Regions from separate parts of the Homo sapiens genome. Here region 1 is linked to region 2. Evidence: promoter capture Hi-C in 16 types of primary human blood cells and fetal thymus (Javierre and others, 2016). All regions are on one chromosome and are shown on one strand. The core of a region is centred on a gene start or on the middle of the fragment in contact, and the rest is flanking DNA. Distances in the headings are between cores, read along the strand shown.

Evidence for each region. Contacts are between HindIII fragments. The CHiCAGO score rates a contact against its expected background, and 5 or more counts as called.
Region 1: a fragment that was not itself captured here is called in contact with the fragment with the promoter of RPTN in region 2 in 14 of 17 cell types (total CD4 T cells, M2 macrophages, M1 macrophages and 11 more); the score reaches 11.0 in total CD4 T cells.

What each region holds. Positions count from the first base shown.
Region 1 is chr1:152,459,585-152,466,252 of GRCh38, reverse strand. No RefSeq gene overlaps it. Among named protein-coding and RNA genes, the nearest start is that of LCE5A, 48 kb to the left of the region's middle. RefSeq lists an enhancer at 5,688-5,747. The HindIII fragment of the contact is 5,711 bases long and covers 981-6,668 here.
Region 2 is chr1:152,154,264-152,161,862 of GRCh38, reverse strand. RPTN (repetin) reads left to right here and starts at 2,635. Exons shown (of 3, transcript NM_001122965.1): 1 at 2,635-2,679; 2 at 3,954-4,111; 3 at 4,903-7,599. The coding sequence starts at 3,974. The coding sequence ends at 7,119. The HindIII fragment of the contact is 1,857 bases long and covers 1,589-3,445 here.

The DNA of each region.
Region 1 (6,668 bases), core at 2,587-5,086, 300 kb before region 2:
GTCAGAACTAAAGGGAGAGATAGAGAACTCCATAATTATATTGAAGATAGTAACATCTGTCTCTCTCTCAGTAATTAATTAGAACAAGCAGTAAAGTTGAGGAGGATAAATCAACCTGACATAATGGGCATACATAGAGCAAACATCAACTATCAGAATACACATTCTTTTCAAATGTACTTTGAACATTGACCAAAATAAACTGTCTTGGATCATAAATCATGTCTTAAAATTTTCAGAGATCTGAAATCATATGTTCTCTGACCACTGTGAAATTATGTCAGGACTCACTAACTGAAAGATAACTAGAAAATCTCCAAATGTGTGGAAATTAAGCCACATGTTTTTAAATGACCCATCAGTCGAAGAAATAAATCACATAGCAAAGTAGGAAACATTTTGGGCTGACTTATAATAAAATATTCTGCATCAAAACTTTCAATGCTGCTAAATCAGTTCTTAGAGAAAATCTTGTACTTTAAGGTAAATATTAGAAAAAAGAAATGTGGGCAAAGATCTAAATTTTTTCTCAAAATACTGGAAAAAGAATGGCCAACTAACCTCTTCCTGAAATTTTAAATAATAAATAAATAATAAAGAGAGGAAATCAATGAAATAGAACACAGGCACACAATAGAGAAAATCAACAAAGTCAAAAGTTACTCTTTTCAAAAATTTTTTTAGAAAGGATTAAAATGAGTAAAGTTAAAAATTAAAAATTAATAAAATTGGGCAAGAAAATAAAAGCAAAAGTGAAAATTATGGATATCAGGAAGAAAAAGAGGGAATCACTACTGATTATACATTATTATGAACAACATTATGCCAATAAAATAGAAAATTCCGATGAAAAGGATATTCTTTAAAAAACAGCTCGCTAACACTGACCTAAGAAGAAATGTAAAATTTCAATATTAAAATAATTTAAATGTTTCCTTAAAAAGACTTTCAAATGCAAAAAAATGCCAAGCCCAGAAGCTTCACCGGTAAATTCTTCTCCTCTATTAAGGAAGAAACAATACCAATCTTATGTAAATTCTCCAAAGAAAAGAAATAGGTATTTGGGATCTAATTAAACTAAAGAGCTTCTGCACAGCAAAAGAAACTACCATCAGAATGAACAGGCAACCTACAAAATGGGAGAAAATTTTTACAACTTACTCAACTGACAAAGGGCTAATATCCAGAATCTACAGTGAACTCACACAAATTTACAAGAAAAAAACAAACAACCCCATCAAAAAGTGGGTGAAGGACATGAACAGACACTTCTCAAAAGAAGACATTTATGCAGCCAAAAAACACATGAAAAAATGCTCACCATCACAGGCCATCAGAGAAATGCAAATCAAAACCACAATGAGATACCACCTCACACCAGTTAGAATGGAAATCATTAAAAAGTCAGGAAACAACAGGTGCTGGAGAGGACGTGGAGAAATGGGAACACTTTTACACTGTTGGTGGGACTGTAAACTAGTTCAACCATTGTGGAAGTCAGTGTGGCGATTCCTCAGGGATCTAGAACTAGAAATACCATTTGACCCAGCCATCCCATTACTGGGTATATACCCAAAGGACTATAAATCATGCTGCTATAAAGACACATGCACACGTATGTTTATTACCGCATTATTCACAATAGCAAAGACTTGGAACCAACCCAAATGTCCAACAATGATAGACTGGATTAAGAAAATGTGGCACATATACACCATGGAATACTATGCAGCCATAAAAAATGATGAGTTCATGTCCTTTGTAGGGACATGGATGAAATTGGAAATCATCATTCTCAGTAAACTATCGCAAGAACAAAAAACCAAACACCGCATATTCTCACTCATAGGTGGAAATTGAACAATGAGAACACATGGACACAGGAAGGGGAACATCATACTCTGGGGACTGTGGTGGGGGGGGAGGGGAGAGGGATAGCATTGGGAGATATACCTAATGCTAGATGATGAGTTAGTGGGTGCAGCGCACCAGCATGGCACATGTATACATATGTAACTAACCTGCACATTGTGCACATGTACCCTAAAACTTAAAGTATAATAATAATAAAATAAAATAAAATAGGTATTTGACAAGGAGTATCTAATGGCCATATCTTTGTTGCCACATCACACCATGGACTACCAGTGCCCTCTTTACCACTGAAAATAGTCATCAGTGCCTTTAAATCCAATTAGATTAGATAATTGCAGAAAACCCAGAATTAGTTCAGAAAACTCATTTTTCTGTTCCTCTACACTCTACCTCTGAGTATGAAAATCTCTGTCAGTCAGAGTTGCACTAGAAGAATACCAGAACCAGTACGTGTGTGTGTGTGTGTGTGTGAGAGAGAGAGAGAGAGTGTGTGTGTGTGTGAGAGAGAGAGAGAGAGTGTGTGTGTGTGTGTGTGTGTGTGTGTGTAGGAAAGGGGGTGGAGGAGAGGGAAAGAAAGAGAAAGTGATTGCAAGGAACTGGCTTATAGGATTGTGGATGCTGGATAGGCAAGTCTGAAATCCATAGAGCAATTTCGTTTACTTAAAGTGAACTGATTACAAATATTAATCACATCTTTAAAATACATTTACAACAAAACCTAGATTAGTGTTTGGTTGAATAACATATAACTGATCAACAAATAGAGTTTATTTTAGAAACAGTTTCAAACCTCTTTCAAATTTGAAAGGCAATTAATGATTAATTAACATTAATAAAGTAAAGGAGAAATATAATATGGTCATCACAATAGAAATAGAAAATAATAATAAAAGATATTCAGATTAGAAAAAATAAAACTTATTATTCTCAGATGACATGATTGTGTTCGTGTAAAATCAAAAATAATGTACAAAACAACTAAAATTATAACTAAACTTAACAAGGATGATAGATAAAAGTCAATTTACAATAAATCAATTGTATTTTGATTTATTAGCAACCATCAAATAAGAAATAAAAATTTTAAGATATCATTTATTATAGCACCCACAAACATCAAACAAACAGAAATAAATCTGTTAGAAAATGTGCAACTTCTCTAGGCTGAAAACTATAAAATAGTACTGAGAGAAATGAAAGAAGTCCTAAATAAATGAAAAAATATTCAATATTTATGAGTTAGAAATTTGATATTGTAACATGTCAATTATCTTCACTTTTTTGTATAGAGTTAAAGAAATTCTCATCCCAGCAGGGTTTTTTAAATAAAATTGACAGGCAAATTCTAAAACGTGTATGAAAATGCAAAGAATTGGTCGGGCGTGTTGGCTCTGCCAGCACTTTGGTGGATCACCCGAGGTCAGGTGTTCGAGACCGGCCAGCCTGACCAACATGGTGAAACCCCTTCTCTACTAAAAATACAAAATTAGGGCCGGGCGCGATGGCTCGCGCCTTTAATCCCAGCGCTTTGGGAGGTCGAGGCGGGCGGTCACGAGGTCAGGAGTTCGAGACCAGCCTGACCAACATGGTGAAACCCTGTCTCTACTAAAAATACAAAATTAGGGCCGGGCGTGATGGAGCGCGCCTGTAATGCCAGCTAATCAGGAGGCTGAGGCAGGAGAATCGCTTGAACCCGAGAGGCAGAAGTAGCAGTGAGCGGAGATCGCGCCACTGCACTCCAGCGTGGGCGACAGAGTGGGACTCCGCCTAAAAAAAATTAATAAATATATACAAAATTAGCCAGGCGTGGTGGCGCATGCCTGTAATCCCAGCTACTTGGTAAACTGAGGCAGGAGAATCGCTTGAACCTGGCAGGCGGAGGTTGCAGTGAGCCAAGATCGCGCCATTGAACTCCAGCCTGGGCAACAAGAGTGAAACTCAAAAAAAAAAAAAAAAAAAAAGGAAGGAAGGAAGGAGCAAAGAGAATAGCCCAGCCAGCCAATATTTTAAAAAGGGATAAATTTGCGAGATTTATACCGCCCGATATCAAAATTTGTTATAACATTGCAGTAACTACGACTGCGGTATTAGTTTGAAAGTAGAACAATAGAACAAAATAAGAAGTCAAAAACGTTCCCATACATATACGGCCAACTAAGTTATGACAAAACTCCACTGCAATGTAGTAGGGGAAAAAAAAATGGTAGGAAATGATTCTGGGTCATTTGAATATCCATGTGGGGAAATAAATGAACCTTGACCCCTACCTCAATCCATACAAAAATATTTGTAAGAAATGGATCATAGACCTAAATGTGAGGGTTAAAATAATCCAGCTTCTAAATTAAAACAGAAGAAAATATACTGGGTAGACAAAGATTTCCTAAACAGGACATAAAAAGTACTATTTTATAAAAGAAAAATTATTTTATATTTTATAAAAGAAAAAACTGATAAATTGAAATCCTTAAAATTAAAAACTTTTAGTTCTTGAAAGACATTGAAAAGAGAGCGTGTAGGGAAGCAATAGGAAGATTTTGTGTCATATCTATCTGTATCTATGGCTACAGTTGTGTAACTTCTTTTATTTTTAATTCGCTGATTCCCCACGAGAGGGCGCCTTTCCACAAGTCCTTATTTAGCACAGCACTGATGGCCATAGACAATGCTCGAGCCTGGCTTTCTAGCACATCTCCATTTCCCAACACAGAGGCTAAGCCCTTTGTGGGAGGCACACATGTAGTCAGACAATCCTGGTAATATGTGATACGTTTGGGGAAAAATTTTTTTTAACAGTGACTTAAGACCTGGTAAGGTATCTGTGTGGCCAGATTAAAGGATAAGAGTGAGTTAGTAAAACCTAAAATGAACTGGGCGTGGTGGCTCACGCCTGTAATCCCAGCACTTTGGGAGGCCGAGACGGGCGGATTACGAGGTCAGGAGATTGAGACCATCCTGGCTAACACGGTGAAACCCCGTCTCTACTAAAAATACAAAAATATTAGCCGGGCGTAGTGGCGGGAGCCTGTAGTCCCAGCTACTTGGGAGGCTGAGGCAGGAGAATGGCGTGAACCTGGGAGGCGGAGCTTGCAGTGAGCCGAGATAGCGCCACTGCACTCCAGCCTGGGCGACAGAGCGAGACTCCGTCTCAAAAAATAATAATAATAATAAATAAAATAAACCTAAAATACAGGCAGTTCGTCTCTTTTTAGAAGTCAAAACCTTAACATCTGGGAGTGTCCGTATGAATTTTGGCCCCTAAAAATCTTAAAAAGGGATGTTTTTGAGTTGCCAGCATCAATACTTAGTATAAAAAGTTTATAAGTGCAATAACTCTTTGGAACTCTATCACCAAAGGAGGACATTCTTCTTCTATTTAGATGTCACACATCTCCACAAACCGAAATGCAGTCTGTTTCCTATTTATTGTTATATGTTGCCTGCATTCTTTCTTTCAACAGTTATTGAACACCTTGCTGTGTCCTAGGACCTGTGCACATCTTCTGGGATCTGCCATAATTTAATGCTAATTCTCTGTCCCCCTCTGGGAGAAGACAAACACATTAGCCACATGGTGATTAGATGTAGTTCAAGGTGTCTTAGGGTCTCTGAGGACTGGGGAGTTTGGAGAGTGTAAGGGATGGATCTTGGAAGTAGGTGATTTTTGAAGTAGGTGATGTTGGGGGACATCTTGGATGTACAGATTGTTTTTCGTAAGGTATACCAGCACAAGCAAAGGCAAAGGGACATTTGCATGATGCTACCATGAGGTATTATATACATAAAGTGTTTCGGGAAGACTGAAATAATTAATTTGCTAGAGTCACGTATAGAAAGGCTTCATTTGCCATTTCCAAGTAAAGAAGAATGAAGATTGACTGGGTGAAAAGGCGGTTTATGCACACAACCAGCAGGTGGCGCCCACCCTTCTGCACATCTAGCAGCCTGGTTAGTCCCTCCCAAATTACAGCAACCAGGAAGGAGTCAAATGCTGATGTCCACCTGGGCCAACCCTCACCCCCACACACATCCCACACCTTATACTCTGAGCTACTCTGAACCCACTACCTACAGAAACTAGAACAGATAGGAAACAGCATGGTTAAAAATGTTCCACACTTGCTTTCACTTTCAAGAAGAATGTCACTTCTGTGCTTTTACTTTCAGATAATTTAAAAACCAAAAGTCTACTTAATGCCAAAAAAAAAAAGAGAAGTAAAAATAGTAATTGATTTCAGAGTGGTGAGGACGCTGGACCTAAAACCAGGGGTACAAGGAAGCAGCCTCGGTGTGGTGGGGATCAGTGAGAGCCTGTGACTCCTGGGGCCCTCCTCGGCCACTGAGCTGGGGCTCACTGACACCAGGAGGCCAGCTCAGAGCATGGCAGCTGCTGCAGGCAGGGCCACTCGGCCGAATGAAGGCAATGGGGTGCAGAGGAGAGAACGGGGCTCTGGAGCCAGAACATCTGCTTTGCTGGCTCTGTGGCCATGTGTGAGTTACCCACTCTCACCAAACCACTATTTCTCAACTTCTAAATTGGTCCATAACACACTCCCAGAGGAGTTGACATGATCAGCATGTTTAAGTGCCTAGTGGTGCCCAGCATATAATATATACTCAGTCAGTAGAGGTAGCTCAACCCCATTACTCTCCTCTCTCACTCCCTTCCAGCCACACTGGCCTCTTTGCTGTATCTTGTGTAGATCAGGAATGATTTCACCTTAGGACATTTGCATTGGCTTTTCCCTCTACCTGGAATCTTCTTACCCAAGATATCTGCTTGGCTCCCTCCC
Region 2 (7,599 bases), core at 1,386-3,885:
AAGACTACATTTTATCTCAGTGCCCACAAAAGGGCGCCCTCTGTATGGTCACAAATACTAATTGATTAACTGATTGGCTGATCAACATAGTTCTCTGCCTATTCTATCGGAGTGTATTAAGTGTTAAATGAATGCACACATAGCGGATCCTACTCTTAAGAACATAATCTTTCTCTCACTGCAACATCAAACAAACAGAACTGCCTGTCTAACCAAAAGAAACAGTTGCTAGAGAGCCATGGAACACGCCAAGAGAAAGGGGACACAGCATTGTTGTTCTGTTTCCTGATGGCTATTGTCTTCAACCCCTGCCCATCCCACCCCTACTCCTCTTATTTGCCTCTGGGGACAACCAAATCTTCTCTAGGTCTTTTATTCTAACAGGTGAGAAGAGACATAACTGAAGAGCACTAAGTAGAGATGCAAAAGTATAAGGAGAACCTTAATGTGACCCAGCCCTCAGAATTTATGAATAGACTTAAGAAAGTCCTGACTTGTGCTGGGAGACCCCAAACAGCCAAGGATGCAAGCTGGAGGGATGATAACAAGACTACAAAAGGCAGAGACCCTGGGAAATGCCAATAGAAGCACTAGATCTTAGACCCAGCAGTCCCCCTTCAGAAGTTACATTTCTTCAGTGTACCATAGTTCTACTAGTTATCTAGACTTAAAGACTTGGAATCTCACCTAATGTTCCCACTTTCCCTGCCCCTCTTCTAATCTGTCCCCAGACCTCATCCCTTTATCCCTGCTATTATCCATCTACCTTCCTATAGTTTTGAACTACTGCGTCCAGGTCGAAGTCCTTGTCACTTCTCACCCATGCCATATAATAGACTCCTAACTGGTCTCACTGCCCAGTACTCCTCTGTCCAATTTATCTTGTACACCACAGTTTAGGGTGACCAACTCGGTCCAGATTGCCCAGAATTATCCCACTGAAAGTCTCATGTCCTGGGAAACTCCTTAGTGCCAGACAAACTGAGACATCTGACCAACTACAACAGAGCCATTAGATTCTTCCTCTAAATAATGCTTTGATTATGTCACTTTTCCTAGCCAAAACCCTACTTCTGCTTTCTCATTAAAATAAACCCTAAAGTAGGCCCCAAATCTGCCTCAGAGAATGTCTCAGAAAGCATATCGGTCTGGAGTGAGGAAACAAGTAAACCAGGCCTGGCTTTAGTCATAGCCCGTGAAACCCTTGGCAAATACAGTCAATCTAGCTGAACCTCAGTTTCCTCATCTGTAAAATTAAGAGGCTAGATTTCCCTTTCAGTTCCAAAATTTTCTAAGTCTACTCTTTTAAATCCCTCTGCTCTTTTAAATCCCTCTGCTCAACACAGACTTACCAGCTCACTCGAATCCAAACTCTCACCTTAGTACCTTTGATTCTTCCCTTCTCCCCACTCAGAAGTTCTTTGCTTTCTTCTCTGCCCACCTGAATCCTTTCAGGAACAACATGAAGCTCACCTCCTAAGGGACGTCCAGGCCCAGCCATGAGGACTCCACATGCGCCTAGGTTTCTAATACTCAGCACTTAGCATGTCCTATCCCTGGAGTTCAAAATATTTTTCTATGTGAAGCTTCTTTATTCCAACTAAACTAAAATCTTTCTGCACTGTTGTGATTCCCTTGTAGAATCCTGAACACATAGTAAGTAATAGTTAGTGTTATTAATAATAATGGATTGGCTGATGGATACATAGGAAAAAGTCCAAACAGGGATCTAGATGTGAGACAAACGTAGAAATACAGGTGAGTCTACAGCTTTTTGCACCTTACATACAATTCTTCAGTGCTTCCATAATCCAATAATTCCTTTACCCCAAAAATATTCACTAAGAATTTCCCATGCTCAAGACACTGTGCTGGCATCCAAGGGCACGGAGATGGGAAGTGAACAGAAGCTGGGGTCTCTAGCAGCATTTCTCTCTCACAGATATCATAAACTTCCATGATGTCCCTCAATTCAAACTTTTTAGTAGTAAGTCTTAGAAGGCTTAAGTGGTAGAAGTTGCACCATTGGAGCCCCTCATCCCCAAAACTGACCATGTATCTACTTCTCCCAACTAGCCTGTGGAGCTGTTAAATGAAAAAATAATAGTAATTCAAAATAAGTTAATAGGTTAATAGCCAAATATCTACCAGCACAAGAAAAAGGTTAGTCTAAAAGAAACCTCTTCCAGGAACTATATTCTGGCCAAATAAATAGAATCTCTAGTTCCAACTTTGACATATGTTTGTAAGTGACCACATAGATAGCATTCTTCAGTATGAGCTGACTGTTGCCCTCTATTAGTATTGGCAAGTGACATATATTAAGGATGAACTCAGCCAACACCTCTGTCTTTTGGGACCCTCACAGCACAAATACATACACATACACACACATTCTCTTAATTAAATGGGACTGGGACTTAAACAGCGTCACCTACTGTAGTGACAAACAGGTTCATGAGCAAGTGGGGGAAGTAAATAAACCAAACAGTTTGCAGAGGGAGAGGTCAAGCTGGGCTGAGCTGGGCTGGGACCAGAGTGATTCAGGCTTTGCCACAGAATGGGTGTCTCCTGGGATGGCCTGGTAGGATAATTAAAACCCCTATAAATAGGATGAGTTTTTAGGTCCCCAGTATCCTCTCTGACTCCTGAATCTTCTGCTCCTTCCTCCTCAAGCAGGTAAGACATGCATAGGGGAGCATTGGTAGTATCTACAAGGCTCTCAAGAGCCCTATAATGCACCAGGCTGGGGAGGTCTGAGACTTAATTCCTGTGGGTAACAGCTTTGGTTACCTTCTGCTTCCTTTTTCTGGCTCTATCTGAGAATATGACAATAGCTGGGGTGGACTACTTCTGTGTCTGTAAAATGCAAATGCCTTCACTTCAATGTGTCCTAGGCATCCCAAAACTGAGGGCTAGAACAATTGATGAATAGCTTAGTCTCCCATAGTGGAGCATTTACTTTTTGTGCAAGTTAGGAAAGACCGAATAGTTTAGGGCCAAGGCTCTGGACCATGGGCCCAGCAATGCTCAAGTCTCATTGCATTGAATTACAACAAGGGACTCAGCTTGTCCCATGTGATCCATTATTTGTCACTTATTTTCTTATAGACATCACTGTTTGTATGCTTTTGGCAATTCAACATGCTCTGCAGATAGGGCTTCAGTTTGGAGGCCTATAAACCCACTAACTGGAATTTTCATTCCACAAGAAAAAAAATGTAATTGAGATTTAGATCCCAAAAGACCCAAGTCTCCCAGCATGGCCAATGTGGACCTAACTGATTATATATACCTCCTATAATCTGTGCCCTTAATTTGGCTATGTACCCACTTGCTATTTTTATCTGTAACAGCTTTTATATTCATTGATTTCATTTTATAAGCATGTCCCAAAACCATCCAGGCCAGAAGCATTTGCTGGAATTTAGCCTCCCAGAAAGCTTCCTTAGACCGTGAAGAGAGACTTTCAGCCTTCTTCCTTGCTTAAGAAAGGCTCATTACAAGACTGAAACCTGTTCAGTGGGATCTATTTAGTGCCCCCTCCAGTTTGCTAGTTGTTAGTCGAAAATTATGCCCTACTATGCTGGCTTCTATTCCTGCCTCTATTGGGCTTCCTGGCCTCCCCTCCTTTTGTTCTAATATGAGATTTTCAATCAGGTGAATCCTGTCTGGAGTAGAGGATGGGATATGTAAAACACCTGCAATGCATTTTTTGTTTTTTAAGAAATTGTCTCTTTTTATAGCAAGGGAACCAAGTTTGCACCATCTCCCACTATAGCAATGAGATTTGGTCCCCGACTGTGAGTCAGGGCAAGGAAGGGGTACAGCTAAGAAGGGGCTCTCTCACTTCTTAAACTTTCTCCCAGATCCAGAGGGGTCACTTTCCCTCTGGAAATGCTGTCTCGTGGTCATTATCCTAACGGCAGGAGAAATCTTGTTTCTTCTTTTAGGTTCACCCGTACTTGTCAAAATGGCTCAACTCCTGAATAGCATACTCAGTGTGATTGACGTATTCCACAAATATGCCAAAGGGAATGGGGACTGTGCCTTACTATGCAAGGAAGAGTTGAAACAACTGCTCTTGGCTGAGTTTGGAGACATCCTCCAGGTAAGATACACAGACACACAGCCCCATGAGATCAAGTGTGAATGACTCTGACACCTGCACCAGGGTTGGATGCTTTGTTTTATTTGGGCTTGCTCTGCCCTGTAAGAAAAGGAATTTCAGGCAGCTCCTTAGTAGTTCTCTCCCAGCATACACACACACACACACACACACACACACACACACACACACACACCTCCTTGTATCTGAATTTGAACAGGAGAGAGTATAACTTCAAGGTAACAGGGAATAATTTCTCAGAAGAAAACCTAAGATTCATACTTTGATTTCTATATTTAGTGCTATCCACACATCTTTTAATGTATTCATTTAGTGCTATCCACACATCTTTTCATGTATTCATTCATTCAACCAATAAAGAGTCACTGAGCACCTGCTCTATGCCCCTAGGCACAAGGGATACAAACATGAATAAAATCAGCTCCCCCTCCCTCTAGGATCTCACAGTGCAGTGAAAAACAAAAGGGGCTAAACAACTAGGATATAGCCTGTGATGGAATGGGATAACTTTGAAATGAATCAAATTAATTACTAATGGAGATGATTTTAAATAAATGTATCTACTCCCTATGGTCATGCTCCCATTGATCCAGCAAGGTTCTGAGAACCAGCTGATCAAAGACTAGCGCCAAGTCCACACCACTTCAGATTAATGGTTTTTCAACCTAGGAAGGTCCGTGCAGCACCGAATGGATTGGGGCATGAACACTGATACACATCTTAGTATGCACAAGACAGCATCTGATTTTGCTCTTTGTTTTATCTCCTAACAGAGACCAAATGACCCAGAGACTGTGGAAACCATCTTGAACCTCTTAGATCAAGACCGAGATGGACATATTGATTTTCATGAGTACCTCTTGTTGGTGTTCCAGTTGGTCCAAGCCTGCTATCATAAGCTAGACAATAAGTCACATGGAGGCAGGACCTCACAGCAAGAAAGGGGGCAGGAAGGAGCACAAGACTGTAAGTTCCCAGGAAACACAGGCAGACAACACAGACAGAGGCACGAGGAAGAAAGGCAGAACTCCCACCACAGTCAGCCTGAGAGACAAGACGGAGATTCCCACCATGGTCAGCCTGAGAGACAAGACAGAGATTCCCACCATGGTCAGTCTGAGAAACAAGACAGAGATTCCCACCACAGTCAGCCTGAGAGACAAGACAGAGATTCTCACCACAATCAGTCTGAGAGACAAGACAAGGATTTCAGCTTTGATCAGTCAGAGAGACAAAGTCAAGACTCCAGCTCTGGTAAAAAAGTGAGTCACAAATCTACCAGTGGCCAGGCTAAATGGCAGGGACATATCTTTGCCTTAAATCGGTGTGAAAAACCAATTCAGGATTCTCATTATGGTCAGTCTGAAAGACATACACAACAATCTGAAACACTTGGACAAGCCTCTCACTTTAACCAGACAAATCAACAGAAATCAGGCTCTTATTGTGGACAGTCTGAGAGGCTAGGTCAGGAATTAGGCTGTGGTCAGACAGACAGACAAGGCCAGAGTTCCCACTACGGTCAGACGGACAGACAAGACCAGAGTTATCATTATGGTCAGACAGACAGACAAGGCCAGAGTTCCCACTACAGTCAGACGGACAGACAAGGCCAGAGTTCCCACTACAGTCAGCCAGACAGACAAGGTCAGAGTTCCCACTATGGTCAAATGGACAGAAAAGGCCAGTGTTATCATTATGATCAGACAAACAGACAAGGCCAGGGTTCCCACTACAGTCAACCAAACAGACAAGGTCAGAGTTCCCACTATGGTCAGCCAGACACACAAGATCAGAGTTCTCACTATGGTCAGACAGACAGACAAGACCAAAGTTCTCACTATGGTCAGACAGAGAGACAAGGCCAGAGTTCCCACTACAGTCAGATGGACCGACAAGGCCAGGGTTCTCACTACGGTCAGACAGACAGACAAGGCCAGAGTTCCCACTATGGTCAGCCAGACAGACAAGGCCAGAATTCCCACTATGGTCAGACAGACAGACAAGGCCAGAGTTCCCACTATGGTCAGACAGACAGACAAGGCCAGAGTTCCCACTACAGTCAGCCAGACAAACAAGGCCAGAGTTCCCACTATGGTAAGATAGACAGACAAGACCAGAGTTATCATTATGGTCAGCCAGACGGACAAGGCCAAAGTTCCCACTATGGTCAGACAGACAGACAAGGCCAGAGTTTCCACTATGGTCAGCCAGACAGACAAGGCCAGAGTTCCCACTACAGTCAGATGGACAGACAAGGCCAGAGTTCCCACTATGGTCAGACAGACAGACAAGGCCAGAGTTCCCACTACGGTCAGACAGACAGACAAGGCCAGAGCTATCATTATGGTCAGACAGACAGACAAGGCCAGAGTTCCCACTATATTCAATCACAGACTGGGGAAATACAAGGGCAAAATAAGTACTTCCAAGGGACTGAAGGAACAAGAAAAGCCTCTTATGTTGAACAATCAGGAAGATCAGGGAGGCTAAGTCAACAGACTCCAGGACAGGAAGGGTACCAAAACCAGGGACAGGGATTCCAGTCTAGGGACTCACAGCAGAACGGCCACCAGGTATGGGAGCCTGAAGAGGATAGCCAACATCACCAACACAAACTCTTAGCACAAATCCAACAAGAAAGACCACTTTGTCACAAAGGGAGAGACTGGCAATCATGCAGTAGTGAGCAGGGCCACAGACAGGCCCAGACCAGGCAGAGTCATGGTGAGGGGCTGAGCCACTGGGCAGAGGAAGAGCAGGGCCATCAAACTTGGGATAGACACAGCCATGAGAGTCAGGAAGGTCCATGTGGGACACAGGACAGGCGAACCCATAAAGATGAGCAGAACCATCAGAGACGAGACAGACAAACCCATGAACATGAGCAGAGCCATCAGAGACGAGACAGGCAAACCCATGAAGACAAGCAGAACCGTCAGAGACGAGACAGGCAAACCCATGAAGACGAGCAGAACCATCAGAGATGAGACAGGCAAACTCATGAAGAGGATCAAAACCATCAGCAACAACATAATAGACAAAACTATGAGGAGAAAGAGAGGTATCAAGGATCTCAGAATCAAAAATCCCAAGTGACCCACAGAAGCTGTCCTAACAGAGAAAAATTCCACATGAAAGAGGATGACCAGAGCCAAGGCTCACAGAAAAGACACACTGAACCATCCTTCTATCCAACCCAGAGCAGTGGGAGGCCCCAAACCAGAGAACAGCGTGGTCACCCTGCCAAGGGAGCTACTGTTCCCAACCCCCCCTATGACTATGTGCAAGAGCAGAAATCCTACCCATACTAGGCTATGTGAGCACCAGAGGTAAAGCAACACAAAGCCAAAAAAGAAACCTATATGTCGAGTTCACCTTTAATTCGATTTAAGAGATTGAGAATGTATTTCTTCCCTCTATCCTCTGCTGTATCTCCCTGCAAGGATGTTTTTGAGTACTAGCATTCA